Linked DNA regions of Homo sapiens: regions 1, 2, 4 and 5 are each linked to region 3. Evidence: promoter capture Hi-C in 16 types of primary human blood cells and fetal thymus (Javierre and others, 2016). All regions are on one chromosome and are shown on one strand. Each heading gives the region's core, a stretch centred on a gene start or on the middle of the fragment in contact. The rest is flanking DNA. Distances are from core to core; before and after follow the strand shown.

Evidence for each region. Contacts are between HindIII fragments. The CHiCAGO score rates a contact against its expected background, and 5 or more counts as called.
Region 1: a contact is called between the fragment with the promoter of PATJ here and the fragment with the promoter of NFIA-AS2 in region 3, in 10 of 17 cell types (M1 macrophages, erythroblasts, monocytes and 7 more). The highest score is 13.8, in M1 macrophages.
Region 2: a contact is called between a fragment that was not itself captured here and the fragment with the promoter of NFIA-AS2 in region 3, in 1 of 17 cell types (monocytes). The highest score is 5.4, in monocytes.
Region 4: the fragment with the promoter of TM2D1 here is called in contact with the fragment with the promoter of NFIA-AS2 in region 3 in 7 of 17 cell types (erythroblasts, monocytes, M0 macrophages and 4 more); the score reaches 10.3 in erythroblasts.
Region 5: a contact is called between a fragment that was not itself captured here and the fragment with the promoter of NFIA-AS2 in region 3, in 1 of 17 cell types (endothelial precursors). The highest score is 6.6, in endothelial precursors.

What each region holds. Positions count from the first base shown.
Region 1 is chr1:61,741,230-61,745,104 of GRCh38, reverse strand. PATJ (PATJ crumbs cell polarity complex component) reads right to left here and starts at 2,625. Exons shown (of 44, transcript NM_001350145.3): 1 at 2,550-2,625. It overlaps PATJ-DT (PATJ divergent transcript), which reads left to right and starts at 2,321. Exons shown (of 1, transcript NR_185910.1): 1 at 2,321-3,107. RefSeq lists a silencer at 2,164-2,873. The HindIII fragment of the contact is 6,850 bases long and covers 954-3,875 here.
Region 2 is chr1:61,669,561-61,673,480 of GRCh38, reverse strand. No RefSeq gene overlaps it. Among named protein-coding and RNA genes, the nearest start is that of TM2D1, 54 kb to the left of the region's middle. The HindIII fragment of the contact is 5,025 bases long and covers 1-3,841 here.
Region 3 is chr1:60,967,925-60,972,078 of GRCh38, reverse strand. It overlaps NFIA-AS2 (NFIA antisense RNA 2), which reads left to right and starts at 1,339. Exons shown (of 7, transcript NR_110617.2): 1 at 1,339-1,531. The HindIII fragment of the contact is 8,221 bases long and covers 1-1,646 here.
Region 4 is chr1:61,723,891-61,728,138 of GRCh38, reverse strand. TM2D1 (TM2 domain containing 1) reads left to right here and starts at 2,998. Exons shown (of 7, transcript NM_032027.3): 1 at 2,998-3,182. The coding sequence starts at 3,019. RefSeq lists enhancers at 2,323-3,008, 2,657-3,316, 2,353-3,552, 3,009-3,696. The HindIII fragment of the contact is 25,050 bases long and covers 1-4,248 here.
Region 5 is chr1:60,154,853-60,159,280 of GRCh38, reverse strand. All of the region lies in intron 1 of LINC02778 (long intergenic non-protein coding RNA 2778), which reads right to left. LOC107984963 (a long non-coding RNA gene) reads right to left here. Exons shown (of 3, transcript XR_001738092.1): 3 at 476-966. Among named protein-coding and RNA genes, the nearest start is that of LINC02778, 42 kb to the right of the region's middle. The HindIII fragment of the contact is 1,297 bases long and covers 1,662-2,958 here.

The DNA.
Region 1 (3,875 bases), core at 1,376-3,875, 770 kb before region 3:
TACTCAATGAAGTCTCCATAAAAAGCCCAAGAAGATGGGGTAGGGAGAGCTTCTCAATATCTGAACACATGGAGGTTCCTGGAGGGTGGCATGCCCCTTCTCATACCTCACCCTGTGCATCTCTTCCTCTTGTATCCTCTGTAATATTCTTAATAATAAACTAGTAATAAACCTAAATAAGTGTTTTCTTGAGTTCCGTGAGCTGCTCTAGCAAGTTAACCAACCCAGAGGAGGGAGTTATGGGATTCCCAATTTATAGGTGGTTAGTCAGAAGCCGGGGTAAAACAATCTAGGACTTGTGATTGGCATCAGAAGTGAGGGCAGTCTTATGGGATCTGACACTATCCCCAGGTAAATAGTTTCAGAATCGAACTGTTAGATGCTCAGCTATTGCTTGATGCAGAACTGATGGGCCCACACATTTATTTGGTCACAGAAGTCCTCAGTGTTGACTGTAGTGGTGTGAGAGCAGAGGAAAAAGTTTGTGTTTTTTCTCTTACTCCTAATAGGATCTGGACTAGTAAGGGCAAATCTCTTCAGAACTCATTTTATAAGTTCTATCCATAAGTATTTCCATATTTATTAACTTTGTTATTATCTTTGTGAAAGTTGCAGATACCAGGTCAAAATCACTTTTTGTCAAACCCAAACAAACTAGAGAGCCTGAGGGAGAAAGCTCATGCTTGCAAGTCTGAGATAAAGATCGGTCTCAAGAAGGAACTAAAATAACCACCCAAGAAATTCTTTCTTTAGGAATGCAGTAATTCAGATAAGATAAGATAAGATAATCTTTTTTCCTTTTTTTTTTTTTTTTTTTTTTGAGACAGGGTTCTTGCTCTGTCACCCAGGCTGGAGTGTAGTGGTGCAAACACCACTCACCACAGCCTCCATCTCCTGGGCTCAAGCAATTCCCCTGCCTCAACCTCCCGACACACCTGACTATTTAAAAAGCTTTTTCTGTAAAGACAGCCATGTTGCTCAGGCTGGTCTCCAACTCTTGGCCTCAAGCGATCCTCCTGCCTAAGCCTCCTAAGTAGCTGAGATAACAGGCATGAGGCAGGTTGCCAGGCCTGATAAGATGCTCTCCATAACACCTGCCCAGTAATGGCATCTTCAACAATGGCCAACTCTGGCTTTCAGTCTGCAAAACCAATAAACTCTGTTTTCACGCAGCTTATCTGCACTTACTTTGCCAATAAAAGTTTCCTTTTACCCTCCCCTCTTCCATGCATATATGGCTTGCCAGGCCTGTGCACCTCGGGCTATAACGCTCATTTCTCATTCCCAAATAAATTCAACACATTTGGAGTGTTTTGTTGTTGTTGTTATTGTTAACATCTTAAAGGCCATTAGGGGCCCTAAAAACATCAAAGCTCACTTTAGCTAAAAGGCTCAATCTCACCTAACATTTTCTAATGCTGCAAACAGATTTAAGTTTTTAACCGCTGCCCCTGCCTCCACTCCTTTCAAATAGATGTGTGCAAATTAATTTGCAGCCAATAGGAATTTAGCCCAGAATGTGGTAGTATCATCCTCAGTGGAACCGACATTGTCCTTCTGGGTTTCCAAAGGCTTCTGCCTTCCTTTAAGAAACACTTGTCGCGCACCTACCAATAGCCAGACCCTAAATGCAGTCGAAAAATAAGGCCCTGAAAGGGGCACCCTCTAAATGGCAGAGGCAAGCCAGTAAACAACCAACTGGAATTCAAAGTGACAAGAGCCACTTGGAAATATGACAAAGTGCCAAGTGAAGGGGTGTTCACTTAATTCGGCCTGCGTGCGGGACGGCTGGGGCGCTTTGGAGAGTGGGAGTGATCTGAAAATGCTTTCCTGAGCTTGATTTAAAAGCAGGAGTCCAGGAATTTCCCCTAAGGCTGGAAGCACTTTCCGACAGAACCTCCCCATCTACGCAGCAAGGCTGGCAGAGCCCAGGGCCTGACCGCTGGCTTGGGAACCTCCGCTACGGGATGACCAGGCGCCGCGACGCGGCCGGGCCCAAGTCGCCCCCTCAGCCCGGCTCTGAGCACCCCCTCCTCTTTGTCCCCTCACCCCGTTCCCTCCTTCCACGGCCACCGATGGAGGGAAAGACTCCGCCCAGCTCTGGGAGCGAAACAGGGGCACCGATCTGGGCGCAAAATAGGATCCGTGCCACCCCCGAATACCAGTGGGCCGAGATTCGAGGCCCGAAAGGCCTGGGGAGGCGGGGCGGCGCCCCTCCCTGCCCGCGGCCTCGGCGAGCCCTGCGCGGCGGGGCGGGGACCACCGTGGGGTCACCCGGGCCCGACGCAGGAGGACGGCGCCCCCGCCCCGCCTCCCGGGTCAGCGCGGACGCACGCCGCGGGCGCCCCATCCTCGCCGCGGCCCCTCTGAGCGCCCGGCGGCGCCCTCCACCTCCGGCTCCCACCCACTCCAGGCGGGCGGGCGGGGAGAGCGCGGGGGCAGGGCAGGCAGGCCCGGGAAGCCCCGAGGGAGCTGCCCCCGGCCGGCCTCCAGGCGCGGGGACACCCAGGGGCGAGCGCGCACTGCACAGCCGGGACCTCACGCTTTACCTGGTGCGCTGGAGGAGCAGGTGGGAGCCCGGGTCGGGCGGGCTCGGTGTCGGCCCTGCCTCACCTGGGCGGAAGTGAGAGGCCCAGGGTGACCGCGCCTCACCTGGCAGGCCCTCCCCTCGCCCCGACTCTCCCCGCCCGGGGCGGGGCACCGGGGTGGCGCAGGGGGCGGGGGAGGGAGCCCGGGGCCGCGGGAGGCGGGCTCCAAGGAGGGAGGACGGTTGCCCTGGCTGTTTACGTGCAGGTGAATTCCTACCGGGCGCGGGATGGCCAAGGGCCTGGGAAAAGTGGGCTGTGGGGGCGGGGTGGCGGATCAGACCGCGCGTGGTGGGGACAGCCGCCACTGACGGGGAGGGAGATCCGGACAGACCGGTGTGGTTGGAGGCCTGCGTGTAGAGCGAGACCCAAGATCAAGGAAATTGAGGAGGATATCGATGAAAGCGTTGGGTCAATCCGCTTAACACTTTGTCTTTTTGCCCCTTTCCTTTCCTGTTCTCTCATCCCTCCTTTGTTTTCTCTATTCGCTGACGCAAAATAAAATATTCTAAAACGTGTAAATGTGGGAGTCATTATTTTCTTCTCATTTAGTGGAAGAAAGAAATCCAGCAGTATTTGCCTGCTGTATGCTAGGTGCTAGCTTATGCAATGTCTCATTTACTCTCTGAAGAAACTAATGAGGAAACCGTGCACCCTGTAGGTTGACTGGCCCAAAGTTTGGAACACAGGCAAGGCATTTTGACTCTAACTACAGTGATGATTTCACTATACGTTAATTTTCTTTTATTTGTGATGTCACACCTTCGAGAAAAATATGTCCCGATAGCCTTCTTCCACTCCCTTTAATAACTTTAGGCTTTTGATGATAGGGGTTTTACTTTGCCTGATACAGTCCACACATTAACGATAAAGAGAATCAATCTTCAGGTATCTTATTCATAGAGTACATACAGTAATTGTTAAACACTGTGATTGATTGTGGGAAGATGTGTAAAATGGTATCCCTGTCCCCAGGAAGATGAGGAATAGATACAAAACAACTACAACATAAAGACTTTCAGGCGGGGCGCGGTGGCTCACGCTTGTAATCCCAGTACTTTGGAAGGCCGAGGCGGGTGGATCACCCGAGGTCAGGAGTTCGAGACCAGCCTGACCAATATGATGAAACCCCGTCTCTACTACAAATACAAAAATTAGCCGGGTGTGGTGGATGCGTAGTCCCCTCTACGCAGGAGGCTGAGGCAGGAGAATCACTTGAACCCAGGAGGCAGAGGTTGCAGTGAGCCAAGATCCTGCCACTGCACTCCAGCCTGGGTGACAGAGAGAGAC
Region 2 (3,920 bases), core at 80-2,579, 700 kb before region 3:
GATACTTCATCTCTCTGAGCCTGTTTCCTCATCTATCAATAGGGAATGAAGTAATAATACCAAACTACCCATTAACATGTCTGTTTCTATTTCCTCGGGACCTATATGTAACATTTTCAAAATTGTTCTCATCTGCTTTTTTTTCCCTTAAATAATAGACTTTATTATTTAGAGCAGTTTTAGGTTCATAGCAAAATTTAGTAGAAAGTACAAAGATTTTCCACTATCCCCACACATGCATACCCCTCTCCCACCACTATCAAGATCCTTACTACAGTGGTATATTTATTACAGTCGATAAGCCTACATCGACACATCATTATCACCCAGAGTCCATAGTTTACATGAGGGTTCACTCTTGGTGTATATTCTGTGGTTTTGGACAAATGTATAATGACATGGAGTCACTATTACAGTGTCATATAGAAATAGTTTCATTGCCCTTAACATCCTCTGTGCTCTGCTTATTCATCCCTCCCCACCCCCACTCCTGGCAATCACTGATTTTTTTACTATCTCCATAGTTTGGCTTTTCAAGAATGTTATACAGTTGGAATCATATAGTATGTAGGCTTTTCAGACTGGCTCCTTTCACTTAGTAATATGCATTTAAGTTTCTTTCATGTCTTTTCACAGCTTGACAACTCAGTTCCCTTTATCACTGAATAATACTTCACTGACTGGATGTACCACAGTTTATTTTCCATTCACCTACTGAAGGACATCTTGGTTGCTTCCAAGTTTTGGCAATTATGAATAAAGCTGCTATAGACGTCTATGTGCAGGTTTTTGTGTGGACATAAATTTTCAACTCCTTTGAGTAAATACCAAGGAGTGTGATTGCTGAATCATATGGTAAGAACAAGTTTAGTTTTGTAAGAAACTGCCAATCTGTCTTCCAGAATATCTGTACCATTTTGCATTCCCATGAGCAATGAATGAGAGTTCCTGTTGCTACACATCCTCTCCAGAATTTGGTGGTGTCAGTGTGCTGGATTTTGGCTATTCTCACAGGCATGTAGGGGTATCTCATGGTCATTTTAATTTGCGTTTCGCTGATTACATATGATGTAGAGCATCTTTTCGTATGCCTGTATGTCATCTGTATACTTCTTTGGTAAGATGTCTATTATGGTCTTTGGCCCATTTTTTATTCACGTTTTCTGATTTTTATATTTTTTAGAGGTAGGGTTTCACTCTATTGTCCAGGCTGGAGTGCAGTGGCATGATCATAGTTCACTGTAAACTCCAGCCCCTGGGCTCAAGCAATCCAAGCAATCCTCCCACCTCACACTCCCAAATAGCTAGGACTACAGGCATGAGCCACTGTGCCTAGCTAATTTTTTCTCTTTTCTTTTTCTTTCGTTTTTTTTTTTTGAGACGGAGTCTCGTTCTTTCGCCCAGGCTAGAGTGCAGTGGCACAATCTCGGCTCACTGCAACCTCTGCCTCCCAGGTTCAAGCAATTCTCTGCCTCAGCCTCCTGAGTAGCTAGGATTACAGGCACCTGCCACCACGCCCAGCTAATTTTTGTATTTTTAGTAGAGATGGGGTTTCACCATCCTGGCCAGGCTGGTCTTGAGCTCTTGACCTCGGGATCCACCCGCCTTGGCCTCCCAAAGTGCTGGGATTACAGGCATGAGCCACCGCGCCTGGCCTAAATTTTTTATTTTCTTGTAGAGAAGGGGTCTCACTATGTTGCCCAGGCTGGTTTCAAACTGGCCTCAAGAGATTCCCCTGCCTTGGCCTCCCAAAGTGCTGGGATTACAGGCATGAGCCACTGCGCCTGGCCCCTATTTTCTTGTTGTTGAGTTTAAAAGGTTTTTTTGTATATTTTGTGTAACAGTTCTTTATCAAATATGTCTTTTGCAAATATTTTCCCCCAGTCTGTGGTTTGTCTTTTCATTCTCTTGGCAGTAACCTTTGCAGAGCAGATATTTTGAATTTTAATGATGTCCAGCTTATGAATTATGTCTTTCATGAATGGTGCCTTTGGTGTTGTATCTAAAAAGTCATTACCAGACCCAAGAGCATCTAGATTTTCTCCTATGTTTTCTTCTAGGAGTTTTATAGCTTTGTGTCTCACATTTAGGTTTGTGATTCATTTTGAGTTAATTATCGTGGAGGGTGTAAAGTCTGCATGTAAATTCACTTTTTCTATGTGGATATCCAGTTGTCCCAGCACCAGTGGTTGAAAACTCATCCTCATTTTTAAACTTATTTCCCCCTTATTCATTATGACAGGGGAAATAGCAGCACGTCCACCAAGAAAGAAGCCCAGAAGTTATCTTTGATGCCATTTTCTCCCTTCCTTGGGTGGATCACCAAACCTTTAATTCCACCTCATAAATACTCTGAAATCATTACTTCATCCTCATTGCAACCCTGCTATTTCAGGCTCCTGAATATCTCTCATCTAGGATCCTCTGATAAACTCCTGCCTTGGTTACCTGGCCAGAGCTCCACCTTCCTCTCCGTCACCCTTCCTACTCCTACCATACCAGACTGATGGTTCCGAAAAGAAAGCGATCATCTCTGTCTCTTGCTTAAAACCCTCAAGAAGCTACCTATGTCATTTAAGATAAAATCCAGATTCCTTTTTCTGGCTTAAAAGGTTTATCCTGATTGAGTCCCAGCCACCCTGCCCTGTCCCCTCACAGTGAGTACTTGGTCTGCTGACCCCTTGAGATGACTGGAATGTGCCCTGGTCTCTTTTAGCCTGAGAATTTTGCTTACTGCTGCTGCTTGTTCTGAAACTGCTCTGCTCACCTCCTTGGAAGGATTTCCTTCAGGTTCTTGAAGATGTGGTCGGAGGTTAGAAGTCCAAATCTGGTCTCAGTGGGCTAAAACAAAAGTATCAGCAGGGCTCTGTCCTTCCGGAGGCTGTAGGGGAGAATCTGTTTCCTTGCTTTTTCTAGTTCCTTTTTTTTTAAACTTTATAATTTCAACTTTTATTTCTGATTCAGGGGTACATGTGCAGGTTTGTTACATGAGTATATTGCATGATGCTGAGGTCTGGGTGCAATTGATCTGTCATCCAGGAAGTGAGCATAGTACTCAATAGGTAGTTTTTCCACCCTTGCCCTCCTCTCCCTCCCCACTCTAGTAGTTCCCAGTGTCCATTCTTGCCATCTTTATGTCCACGAGTACCTGAAGTTTAGCTCCCACTCATAAGTGAGAACATGTGGTATTTGATTTTCTGTTCCTGTGTTAATGCACTTAGGATAATGGCCTCCAGCTGCTTCCATGTTGCGCAAAGGACATGATTTCATTCCTTTTTATGGCTGTGTCCAGTTCCTCTTTAAATTGGGTTAGCTGCCTCTCCAGTCCTTTGTTAGTATCCTGTGCTTCCCGCTAGCATGGCACTGGTTAGATATTATGATAATCTCTTTTAAAAGCAATAACTACACTTATTTATTTATTTATTTTGAGATGGAGTCTTGCTCTGTCGCCCAGGCTGGAGTGCAGTGGTGCAATCTCGGCTCGTTGCAGCCTCTGCCTCCCTGGTTCAAGTGATTCTCCTGCCTCAGCCTCCTGAGTAGCTAGGACTGCAGGTGCATGCTACCAGGCCCAGCTAATTTTTGTATTTTTAGTAGAGACGGGGTTTCCCCGTGTTGGCCAGGCTAGTCTCGAACTCCTGCCCTCAGGTGATCCACCTGCCTCAGCCTCCCAAAGTGCTGGTATTACAGGTGTGAGCCACCGTGCCTGACCCCAAAAGCAAAGCTAAAATGAAGAGGCATGTTGTAACAGACACCTGTCTACTCAGCACTGAGATTAAATATATGTTAGTAATTTGCCATATTTATTTCAGATTTCTCTTATTTCTCTGAAGAAATACAAGCTTATAGACATAAGTAAAGTTTCACTCCTCCCAATCCTTTCTCTACCTTCCCTCCCTAGCGGTAAACACTACTTTGAAGCT
Region 3 (4,154 bases), core at 90-2,589:
CCACAAGGGAGAGGTGATCATGCCATGTTTATCCAGCTAGTTGGGGACAGGGCCTTGACTGGAACCCAGGTCTCCTCCAAACCATGCCTGTCTGAATTTTTCTGGGCTAGAAAAATTAGAAACCCTGCATCCCCAGTCAATACTGGTGCTCCCTCTTGTAGTCCTCACTCCACTCTAAGCACCCTTTACTACCTTTCCTCTGCCATCCCTTTGGGAGAGATGCAAGTGAGCAATGAATTCGACAGTGATAGGAAAGACCTCCTACAGAAGCAAGGGACTTGATAATCTATAAACAGTTCCTGGGTAAAAACCATGAATGTGTACAGAGCACCTACTATCAGGTGCTTACTGAATTTTCTCAATCTCCACCGTAACTGCTATCATTCTTTGTACAGATAAAAAACCAAAAGGCTTAGTTTTGTAGTATCTTAGTTTTGGTAATTTTCCCAAGATCTCACAAAAAGAAAATGTTTGAGCCAGGATCCGAACAATGGTTTATAAGATTCTTCTATCCACCCACCCATCCATCCACCCACCCATCCCTGCACACACCCATCCATGCACACACTTATCCACCCACCCATCATCCATCTGTCTATCTGTTCATTCATCTTTCCATCCAAGAAACCTTTACTGAGAGTGTGTTCCATGTAAGGCAGTGTGCTTGGTGGTATGGAGCTAAGGAGATACATAGCCCCCTGTCCTCATAGAGCTGAGTGGGGCCTCCTTGAGGGTACTGTTGGGATAGTGTTAGGGAGGAGAGTGATGAGGAAATGGTTTATGTGGAAACTGGGCACTTGGGAAGACCATGACAAGAGGATCAGTGGGTTGCTCCCTGACTCCTGCTTCTAAGGTTGCAGATGAGTGCCCAGCTGGCCAGCTGGCCACTGGCATAGTCTGCCTCTTTGTGTAAAAACTAGTGGAATCACATATGTGCTGCTCCCAGATGCAGTCTCGGCACCAACACCTTCCAAGCAGGAGGTTCTGTCATGGTGCTGCCTGCCAAGCCTTGTCCAGAGGACTGAGGCCACTTGGCCAGTTGCACTGGGCCCTGTGCCTGTGCAGAGACTGTCTCACCACAGCAGCTGGGGGCGGCAGGGAAGGGCAAGAGCTTCTTTTGTGTGTGTGTGTGTGTGTGTGTGTGTGTGTGTGTGTGTGTGTGTGTGTTTAAGCTGGAAAGAAGCCCTTTTTCACTGTGCTCTGTACTTGAGATATTTCACTGAGTGGGAGACAAAGAGGCTTTGTGTGCTCTTCAAAGTGCTCTCTGCTGACTGTGATACACATCCAGGAAAAACCCAGACCAAAGCCATGAAGTCACCCCAAGTTCAAACCCAAAATGCAATTTGCAGTGGTTAGAAATGACAAAGGATGGGTGGTAGGATCCAGAGAAAAAACAGTGAAACCCGATGGACCTTAAATAGATCTGAGGGCACTGATTTGATTATTTTGGGTGAAATCTTTTAAGAAAATCTTGTCAGATTCTTCACAGAAAATTTGGTAAAGCCTATATTTCATCGCCAGCCTAGCAAAGGTAAGACCCACGTTAATTTTCTTGGAATATCACTGTTGTTTTTATTCTTAGGGTGTATGTTAGGGAGAAGAGCAGGGAGGTAGTTTGTCAGATGTTGTTCTTTCCTTGTTAAGCTTCACCTGTTCTTAAGAGCAACTTGCACTTTGTCAGCCACAGAATAGTGCCTGCCGTTCAGGCCAGTGTTTTAGATATAATTGAATTGCTGGGACGCATTAAACATCATAGGGTTTTTAGCGGAGAAATAATTTAATGATGTGGCCTTTAGGATTGTTAATTAGCACTGTCTGTATGAACATGTAACAATAACACCACCTACCGTAAAAGCGAATGTTCTACACTTCAGGACACTCATTTCTTTAGGGCTTCCCGCAGAGAAGCAGTCATTAACTCTTTTTTTGACAAATGCTTTTAGACATGCTCTGTAGGGCCGTGAATTCACCCTTCCCTCCAATCCTGAATCCTTCTCTGCATTTATCCACAAGGCAAGCTGGCAAACAGGGAAACAAGGAGAACTGTGTGCTCAGCCCTCCAGAGTGGCACGGATTATGAGGAGGTGATGGTCCTTCCCCGCCAAGATCCTGAGACACTGTCACTCCGGAATCCAAAAAGAGATTCAGGCAAGGATGTGGGAAAGTTGGAACCCTGCATGCTGTTGGTGGGAATGCCAAATGGTGCAGCTGCTATGGAAAACAGTATGGAGGTTCCTCAAAAAATTAAAAATAGAATTACCATATGATCCAGCAGTCCCACAGGGTATTTATCCAAAAGAATTGAAATGAGGATCTTGAAGAGATATTAGTACTCCCATGTTCATTGCAGCACTATACACAATAGCCAAGATGTAGAAATGAACTAAATATCCAACAACAGATCAATGGATAAAGAAAATGTGGAACACACACACACATACACACACATCCCAGAATATTACTTAGCCTTAAAAAAGAAACTCTAAAATATGTGACAACATGGATGAATCTTGAGGACATTATACTAAATGAAATAAACCACTCAGAGAAAGACGAAACTGCATGATTCCACTTATGTGGGGTATCTAAAATTGCCAAATTCGTAGAATCAAAGAGTGCAATGGTGGTTGCCAGGAGCTAGGTGGAGTGAGAAATGAACAGTTGTTAATCAATGGACATACAGTTTTAGTTAAGCAAGATGAGTGAGTTCTAGAGATCTGCTGTACAACGCTTTACCTATGGTCAATAATACTGTATTGTGTGCTTAAAATTTTGCTAAGAAGGTGGCCCTCATGTTACGTGTTCTTACAAAGTTAAAAAGGAAAAAAGTAATGGGATTGGCTCACTGGAGGAGAAGCTGTTGGCTTGCATCCTGCCTGCCCTGATGAAGGGAATGGTCAGGGGCTTGTTTCTCTGCTGGAGTTCAGGCGGGTCTGTCTGAGCCATGGGTCTGGAGGAGGCCTGCATAGGCAGCATGCCATAGGTTTCTCTGGCTTCCTGAGAACAGAGCCTGATAATGATGGAGAAATGAGAGCTTCCCACTCCTTCTTCTGTTTACATTAGAACAGCCAAGTGTTTCTTCAACCATCCACCATTCCCTTATGTCACATGTCTTCTGAAGACACTTTACCTCTTCAGTGAGGCAAGAGCAGCAGCATGAAGGTATTTGAACACTAGATTGTGCCTTGTTCTTCAGTCAGCCAAACTTTTCCCTAGCCATGTTCTAGGCCTTGATGTCTTCACGAAACCTCACCTTCCAACATCTCACTCTGGCCACAGCCCCCTGTCCTGCTACTTCTCTTACTCCTCTCTCTTCTCACAGCCTTGTCTGGCCTCTGGTCCAGAGATGGCCAATGCCTGGTGTGATTGTTGCCACTCTTTCCAGCTCATTGAGAACCTCACAGACTGATCATGCCACTCTCCTATTAAACCCAGAGGTTGCTTTGGGATCCTTCTCAGCACAGGTTCCATCAACTGGAGTTGATGCGTGAGATGAAAACTATTTGCCATTCCAGCTCCAACTCCTTGATCCACTTTCTCTCAGTCCATCAGGCAGGACAGACTCCACACACTTGCATTTGAACTCTTCATGGCACCCCTCCCCTTCCCTTGCACACGCACATGCTCTGTCTGTCCAATGATGTGTTCTCTCCACTTTCTCTACTCTCATGCCCAGAGCACTAAGTATTTTTGGAGTATTTTGCATTATGATGTGTAGTTAATGCCACATAAAAATTTGTGGTTTCTACTTTGGAACTGTCTTTTATTTGTTCTTTATTAGTATCTTCTTGCATTTCCCAGAGAAGCCTTCCAGAGCCTATCTTGCCTTTTCAGTTCCCCAAACCACACCACCTCCCCTCCTTGTCTGTCAACCTCACCTCCCATTTCCCTGAGAAAACTGGCAGAGGCTCCCTATGCCTCCGCCCCTGCCTTGTCCCCCACCCTCTGCCCACATGCACCCTGTCTCTCCCTTTGAGAATCTTTGTTATCTTCCTGCCTAGAGTGCTGTGGCTTCCCCCTTCTTTCTCCTGAGATGTTCCCTTTTCTTCCACACTCAGCAAAGGGTCATTTCCTTGACAAAACTTTCCTTTGCTAACTGACCCTCACCACAGGCAGGCTGGGAAGTTCCCTCCTCTCTCTTCCCTCCGTATCTC
Region 4 (4,248 bases), core at 1,749-4,248, 750 kb before region 3:
CCTAGGCTATACCTTTTTAAGCAGTCATGTATCCTACAAAAATATAGCGTTTCAACTACTATTTTGGGAGAATCTTTTTTAAATGTTTCTTTTTCTTTTCTTTTTTTTGTTCAAGCCATCTGCCTTCCTTGGCCTTCCAAAGTGCTAGGATTACAGGCTTGAGCCACCACGCCAGGCACAGGAGGAATATCTTAAGCAAACCCATTGTCCTACTACAGTAGCTAGTATGTGCTTCTAATGTAACAATTATCAAACACTTATCAAATAGTATTTAACTGTTTGTATTTTCCCTTACCAAACAGGAAGTGCTTACCTGCAGGGTTTTTGTCTAAATTTTTGAGTCTAGGGTCTAGCTTCATGCTGAGTACATAGTAAATGCTCAATTAAAAACAATTTTTTTTTCCTTTTTGGAGGGAGAGGGAGGACGGAAAAAAAGGAAAGAAAGGAAAAACGAAGGAAGAAAAAAGAGAGAAGGAAGAAGTCCATTTAGAATAGGAAGTTTATAACTGAACTACTAAATTTTTCACTTAAATCATTTAAACCTGATTTAAAGCATAAATATTATGTATAAATGTCTTAAATTAAAAATAGCGGCGGGGCGCGGTGGCTCACGCCTGTATTCCAGCACTTTGGGAAGCCAAGGCGGGCGGATCACGAGGTCAGGAGTTCGAGACTAGCCTGACCAACATGGTGAAATCCTGTCTCTACTAAAAAATACAAAAATTAGCTGCGCGTGGTGGCGTGCGCCTGTAATCCCAGCTACTCAGGAGGCTGAGGCAGGAGAATTGCTTGACCCCGGGAGGCAGAGGTTGCAGTGAGCCAAGATCGTGCCACTGCACTCCAGCCTGGATGACAGAGCGAGACTCCATCTCAAAAAATAGCAGCGGGGCGTGGTGGTTCATGCCTGTAATCCCAGACCTTTGGGAGGCTCAGACGGGTGGATCACCTGAGGTCGGAAGTTGGAGACTAGCCTGATCAACATGGAGAAACCCCGTCTCTACTAAAAATACAAAATTAGCCAGGCGTGGTGACTCATGGCTGTAATTCCAGCTACTCAGGAGGCTGAGGTAGGAGAATAGCTTGAACCTGGGAAGTGGAGTTTGCAGTAAGCGAGAATCGTGCCATTGCACTCCAGCCTGGGCAACAAGAGCAAAACTCCCGTCTCAACTCCATTTCTGTCTCTAAATGAATGAATGAATAAAGCATAGTAATGCTACAAAGTTGTTTTATTATGAAAATTTTAGGGCCAGGCGCCGTGGCTCGCGCCTGTAATCCCAGCACTTTGGGAGGCAGAGGCGGGTGGATCACCTTAAGTCATGAGTTCGAGACCAGCCTGCTCAACATGGTGAAACCTCGTCTCTACTAAAAATACAAAAATTAGCTGGGCTGGTAGTGGGCGCCGTAATCCCAGCCTTTCCGGATGCTGAGACAGGAGAATAGCTTGAACCTGGGAGGCGGAGGTTGCAGTGAGCCGAGATCATGCCATTGCAGTCCAGCCTGGGCAACAACAGTGAAACTCCACCTCAAAAAAAGAAAATTTAAAAACGTAGTTTATGTTTAAATATTACTTCAAATAGTTGTATGTCTTCCAGAATATATATTCCAAAATGAGGCCAGGCACAGTGTGGCCTCACACCTGAAATCCCAGCACTTTAGGAGGCAGAGGCGGGCAGATCACTTAGGCCAGGAGTTCGAGACCAGCCTGGCCAAAATGGTGAAACCCTGTCTTTACTAAAAATACAAAAATTAGCTGAGCGTGGTGGCGCACGCGTGCAGTCCCAGCTACTCAGGAGGTTGAGGCAGGCGAATCACTTGAACCAGAAGGCAGAGGTTGCAGTGAGCTGAGATTCTGCCACTGTACTCCAGCCTGGGTGGCAGAGAGAGATTCCATCTTAAAAAAAAAAATTTACTTCTCGTAAAACATTATACCAGTGTTCTCAAAGTGGGGGTCCCTGGACTAGCAACACCCACATCCCTTGGGATCTCCTAGAAATGGAAATTATCCAGTCCCTCCCTACATCTTTTGTATCAGAAACTCTGAGTGCCGGTTCTATCATTCTGTTTTAATAACTACTACAGGTGATTCAGATGCTATTCAAAGTTTGAGAACCACCAAAGTTAGTGCTAAAGTATGGATGAAGAAGCACCACTCAAGTTCAAATTTTTATATTGTTAGACAAAAAAAAGATTAAACTTAACTTTACGAAAACATTTTTTCCTCACTGTTAAAGTTCCCCACCACAGAACTTTTAGAACATATAGAAATTTAAAAACAACAGATGGAGGAAAAAAAATCTTCAACTTTTCACTTAATCATAAACTATTTGGTTTCCTCTTGTTACAGTTTCCACCCCCCAAATTATCCCCCACCTAAATTGTCACTTTTTTTTTTTAAAAGGCGTAATGTCTCTCACAGTTTTTAAGTTCTGTTCGTGGCAGCCTTCCAAAATCCTTCTCTAAAGTTACAGGAGGACATTATGTCAATTAGTAAGAGCATAGATCTGAAATCTGGCAAACATCAATTTCATTCCGACTGAGTCACTTAGTGATTAAGGTCAGTGTGTTTCAGCGTCTTTGAGCCTTGTTCCTTATCTGTAAACCCAAAACCTATCAGGGCTAACTGCGATGATGTCAGGAAAGCATTGATTCCAACCTCTGACGCCGCTGGCACTTTCAGAGGACCGAGAAGCCTCAGCTAAGGGCGCGGGAATGAGAAGCGGGTGAAGCACCTGATTGCCTAAACCACTCGTTTCCTTCCTCCAGCACTCAAAGATTAACCTTAGCTCCTTCCAAGGGTTCGTGGGGGAAAATTCGCCTCGAGGGACTGGGTACATGCATATTTTAAAAGGGTCTCCCAATGTGATTCCACGGGCTCACGGGCAGAAGAACACGCGAAGAGACGGAACTGGCCTCTATCCTATGCGAGGTCCCTTTAAGAACCTCGCCCTGTTGCCCTTCTCCCTCCCGCTCCTGGGCGGAGGCGGAAGCGGAAGTGGCGAGAAAGTGTCGGTCTCCAAGATGGCGGCCGCCTGGCCGTCTGGTCCGTCTGCTCCGGAGGCCGTGACGGCCAGACTCGTTGGTGTCCTGTGGTTCGTCTCAGTCACTACAGGACCCTGGGGGGCTGTTGCCACCTCCGCCGGGGGCGAGGAGTCGCTTAAGTGCGAGGACCTCAAAGTGGGACAATATCCTCTGTGGAGAACACCCCCCCATGGAGGCGAGGTAGAGTTGGGGTCGCAGGTGGGTCGCTGCCGTCAGGACTGGCTAGGGCTGTACTGAGTGAAAACGATAATCTGATCTGTGGCTTCTAATGACTGAAGGATCCCTGAAGGTGAACAGAGTTGTGGAGATGGGAGGGCCAGAGGCCACCCTTTGTGATTTCCTTATGATTTTACTAGTCATTGGCGCTTCCTCTTCTGATCCACTTTTTTTTTCTTTTTTATCAGTGTGCTTACTTGTTCAGTAAAACATGTAGATCCTGAAGTATGCCAGGCCCCGTTCTAGACACTAGTAATACAAAGATGGATAGTCTCTTACCCTGGAAATGTTTGCCAACTCTTCCTAGGGGGAAGACAAGTAATAACGATCTAGCCAATGTGTTGCCCATTTATCATTAACTTTATGTATATTATGCATATTACCTCATGTCATCTTCAAACTTCATGAGATGGTAGACTGCCAGACAAATTTCTTTCTGTTTTCTTTTTTTGAGACAGGGTCTTACTCTGTCGCCCTGGCTGGAGTACAGTGGCACGATCTCAGCTCACTGCAGCCTCCGCCTCCCGGGTTCAGTCAATTCTCCTGCCTCAGCCTCCTGAGTAGCTGGGACTACAGGCATGCGCCACCACACCCGGGTAATTTTTGTATTTTTAGTAGAGACGGGGTTTACGCCATGTTGGCCAGGCTGGTCTTGAACTCCTGGTCTCAAGCGATCCGCATCCCCCTCACCATGAACCACCGCGTGGGGACTCAGTGGATAAATTTCTGTTGCACTTTGCAACCTTGGGTGACCTATTTGAACTCTGTTTTCTCATGAGTAAAAACGTGGATAATTATGGGGCAAATTTAAAGGTTTATTGTAATGTTTATGTATTATTATATTATTTGTAGAGACAGACTTCTCGTTATGTTGCCCAGGCTGTTCTTCCCAAACTCCTGGGCTCCAGTGATCCTCCTGCCTCAAGTATTACTTAGCAATACTAAAAGTATATTTGTACATATGCTTATTGACTTGGACAAACTAGCAGCCTC
Region 5 (4,428 bases), core at 1,061-3,560, 810 kb after region 3:
CTGACTCTTACCTTTAGAGGAATACTGTTTTATCAGTTCATATCAGTTCATCATTTTATTTGATGGCCAGAGTTTTTTCTAACCCATGACAAGTCTAAGTCTATGTCAACAATAATTCATATTAATGAAGGGTTCTATGTGTTGAGGTCTTTGGAGAGTTCCCTTTCAATCCTTTAAACAGCTGGTTCATGAGAAGGGCCACACTTTAATCCTTGACCCCTTAAGTAATTGAACTACCATCTAGATCATAACCTACCACATTATAAGTAAGGAGGCAGACTGATGTGATGGCTCTGAGTTTCGCAGTGATGGAGAAAATCACTTAGATGCTCTTCTGGGCCTCAGTTTCCAATACTTAAAAGAGGATGTTTGTTACTGGTAATCAGCAACCCTCTAGGATTCTACAACAGTGTCATATCATAGGTCAACCTAGAGACTATCAATCTGAAACACTGAATTTTATAAGGTAGGAAGCCATGGCTTAGAAAACAGAATTTCATAGTTCCACGTGGATTCTATATTCTGTAATACCTGGGCAGGAATGGAAGGAGTCCAAGCAAGAGTGGATGAGCCAAGTGGAAGAACAGTATTTCCAGCTAGCCTAAGATTCTCTGAAAGAAAATAGGGCCTAACAGTCGGCATGTGTTAAATTGAGTTGACGAAGGGAAGTGGGACTGGGAATACCTGGAAGAAAGTTATTTGCTTGAGTGAAATTCATTCAATTCAGACGACTTCCTAATCTCCACCCAGAGTTCTTCCAAAGCTATAGACCTGTATATCCAACCCAGAAGACATCTCCACCTACCGATTCAACAGACACCTCCAACTTAATGTGTTTGAAAGAGAACTTGTGTGTTTCCTCCTCTACATATCTCTGATATGGAGTTCAAGACAGTTCCCAGAGATGCTGGCAAGTCTAGGAAGGCAATTTCTTCCATCAGATTGGGCAGTCCTGAGAGCCTTCATCTAAAAGTGAACAGGAAATATTTACCAGGGACTTGGCATTTCCTTCGTCTTCAGAGCTTTCACTTGTGCTGTCTTATTTAACCCCCAATAAAAAACAACATTAATAATTAGGTGGCATTATTCTTATTTTTACAAATTATAAAAGTGAAACTTTGATGGAGTAAATGGTTACTCAAGCTTACACAGCTAGTTAAGTCTGGGAGCTGAAATTCCTACCTACACTTGACTCCTTGACTCCAAACCCTGCATTCCTTTGAGTAGGCTGTCTCCAGCACTGAGAACATCAAAGAATTGGTGCAGATGATGCTAGAGCATAGGGTTGCTGAGCTCTGTTCCTGGGGAGAGGCTGTTTCATGCTCTGTGTTGTGCTGTCTGTCATTAGTAAGCATCGTAGAAATGTTCATTGTCACTAGGAGAGAGTCATGGAACTATTGGGCAGGGAAAGAGATGTTAGGATACAGGTTCAGCAGCTGTCACATGTAATATATTAGGAGGATTTTACTTCCTGTACACATCACTTGAGCAACACACACACAAACACATACACACACACTCCCCACTGTAGTGCTTTCTCTCTCTCTCCCTCTCTGACTGGTTTCTGTGGAAAAAATGTAGAAGATATATTTTAAACGTAAAATAGAGAGCAGCTCACATTTTATTGATAACTCTCATTCACTGAGCACCTATGGTAAGCTTGTGCTCTATAAGCCAACCCAACCTAATTCTCACAGCATTCCTCTGAAATGGGTATTATAAATGGTATTTTGGAGACGAAGAAACTGAGGCACAGAAAGTTTAAAAATTGCTTGAGGTCACACAGCTAGCCAGGGTGCAGGGCTAGGAGAATGAGAATGCAAACACAGGTCTGTCAGGCTCCAAAGCCCAGGATTTCACCAGGATACTTGGCTGCCTCAGCAGGCTCACTCAGTGTGGTGCTGGGTGGACAATCTTGCCAAGAAGGCTCCTGGTGAAGAAAATTATTTTTTAAAATTACTGTTCCTTCCATTGTGTAAAAGTTACCATACACACAGCTCAGCTAGGAAAGTATATATATATATATATATATATATATATATATATATATATATCTCAAAGAGAGCTCCTATCCCTTCCCCCTGGAGCAGACAAAACCTCTAACAAATGCTATTTCATCCTGGTTCACGTGAGAGTTGTATGGGGGAAGCATGGAACATTTCTTGCTGCCAAAGACAAGTCCCAGAATTCTCACATCAGTGCTGCAAGACTGACACCATGTGGCCAAGTCAGCCTCCCGAGGCCCTCCCTTAACCACCTCCCACAGGTTGGAGGCTCACCAGCCTTCTCAGACTTTCTAAGGAAGGCACCTGAGAGGATAGGACAGCAAAGAAAGAACCAACCACCAGGGTGGGGAGCTGCTGGTAGAGTCTATTAGCTCTCTACAGAAGGCAAATACTATGCAAGTAGCCAACTACAAAACTAGGCTGTGGCACAGGAGAACAAGAAACTAGACTTTTTTTTCCCCTAACTTCTGTATTTATTTATCCCTTACCTTGTTCCAAATATACACAGGCAACTAAAAAGATGCTTTGAAGTTCCACTAGGTAATCCATTTTATAATTTGGTGGGCAAGATGAAGCAAGGAGAAACAAAATGGTAGAAATAAAAAAACCCCACACATTTGAAATGAAACAATCTAAAACATGCATAACTAGAAATGCAATACAAGGATTGTCTCTACATCTTCTACATGCCAGTGGGAAGGATGGAGGCCTCATGGTTAGTCTGAGATAAAAACAAACCATGAGGCAATGAAGAGCACAACTGTTCCTCATACTACTAGCAGAAAAAAAAATCCTGAAGTCGTTTTAGAGAGGGCAGGATGTAAAGGTCATGAATAATGTCAGTTCACAGATAAGCATAATTGGCCCAAATGATCTTTTGAGCTCAGCAAATCAGAAAGCCTGAACACTTCAACTCATCCTCTACTTTTGCATTCTTAAAATAATACAAGCTTTTTTTCTCATTATTTGCTTTGACTTTGTGTGTGTGTGTATAGAATGTTTTGTGCTTCCCCTTTAAATGATTGTCGCCAATTAGTTTTGTTTGTCTAAAATGCGATAAGATTCCATTTTAAGAAGTCGATGCTGGGCTTTTACTGAGGAACACAATAAATTAATCATTAAATCAATTGTATTGATTGAAGCTTGCAAGACATGAAAAATTGCAGAGCAAGGAATATTTCCACGAAGAGGTAGGAAAGGACCTCAGCATTCTGGGGGAAGGTAAATAAGTATGCTATGATAATACTGTTTCATTTCTTCCCTGGGATATGAGCTTCATTTATCAACTCTACAATAAATATGGTGACCATTTAATTTCAAACATTTACCGTAAATAATAGCTTCCATTTATTAAGTGCTCACTAAGCACTCTATTCTATGCTTAGTGCTTTCATACATTATGTCACGTAACCCTAACAATAAATCTGGTTGGAGCACATCTCTATCCCCATTTTGTAGAAGAGAATACTGAGGCTGATGCGCATGAGTAACTTGTTCAGAGTGACCCATCTAATGAAAATGTCTGGCTTGGAACCCACTTCTGAGTGAACCGAAAGCCCATGCTCTTAACACTGAATTCTATCTTAAATTAATAAACTAATAGAGAGAGAGGCTTGAAATTCTGCAGCATGCTTCCCTACCTTTTTTCAGGGCTGCTCGTGCCTCCTCAAAGTGTGCCAACAGTGTAAGGAAATAGAGTTTTGGAGCCAAGATTAGGTTTTATTTGGAAGAAAATGAATATTGGTTACCAAAGCCAAGGCAATGAGTAGAGTTGCAGGGTAAGAACTGAGACACCAAAAAGCACCCAATGCAAAATGCTTAGATGAGAGCCAATGGACATAAACACCAAGGCAGATAGGAGGCATAGGGTGGGGGTGGAGGGGTGTGTCAGAGTGTTTTATTATTCACATGAAGTGGCACAAAGAGCCTTTGGCAGAAACTGCCAAGGACTTTGGGCATATACAGGCGTAGTTTTCAACTTTCGAGTCCATAGCATGTACCTTAAGCACATCATTTAAGATTCTAAGCCTCAGTGTCCTTATGTATAAAATGGGAGCAGTCAGATCTCCCTCAAACTGCTGCTGTGAGGTTTAAGTGTGATAATGTATGTGAAACTCTTAAAAGGGAACATCTGGTACAGAGTCCGTGGCCAAAAAGGATGGCTCCTTTCCCCCTCTTTTACGCTCCCTTAGCAGAGCCTCTTTGAAGGAACTCCTGTACTGGACTTGGTAGAGGAGTGCGCCTATCCCCAGCTTTTCCCAACAGACCGCGTTGGCTTATCTCTTAACACCCTAAACAGCAGTCCCTCAAGAAGGTCTCTCTTGGCCTGCTACCTGTGACCAGTTACAAAAGCATAATCTGCTCGACAAGGATGAGGAGGGAAAGTGAGAGTGTTGATGGCTCCAACACTCTATTTCCTTCC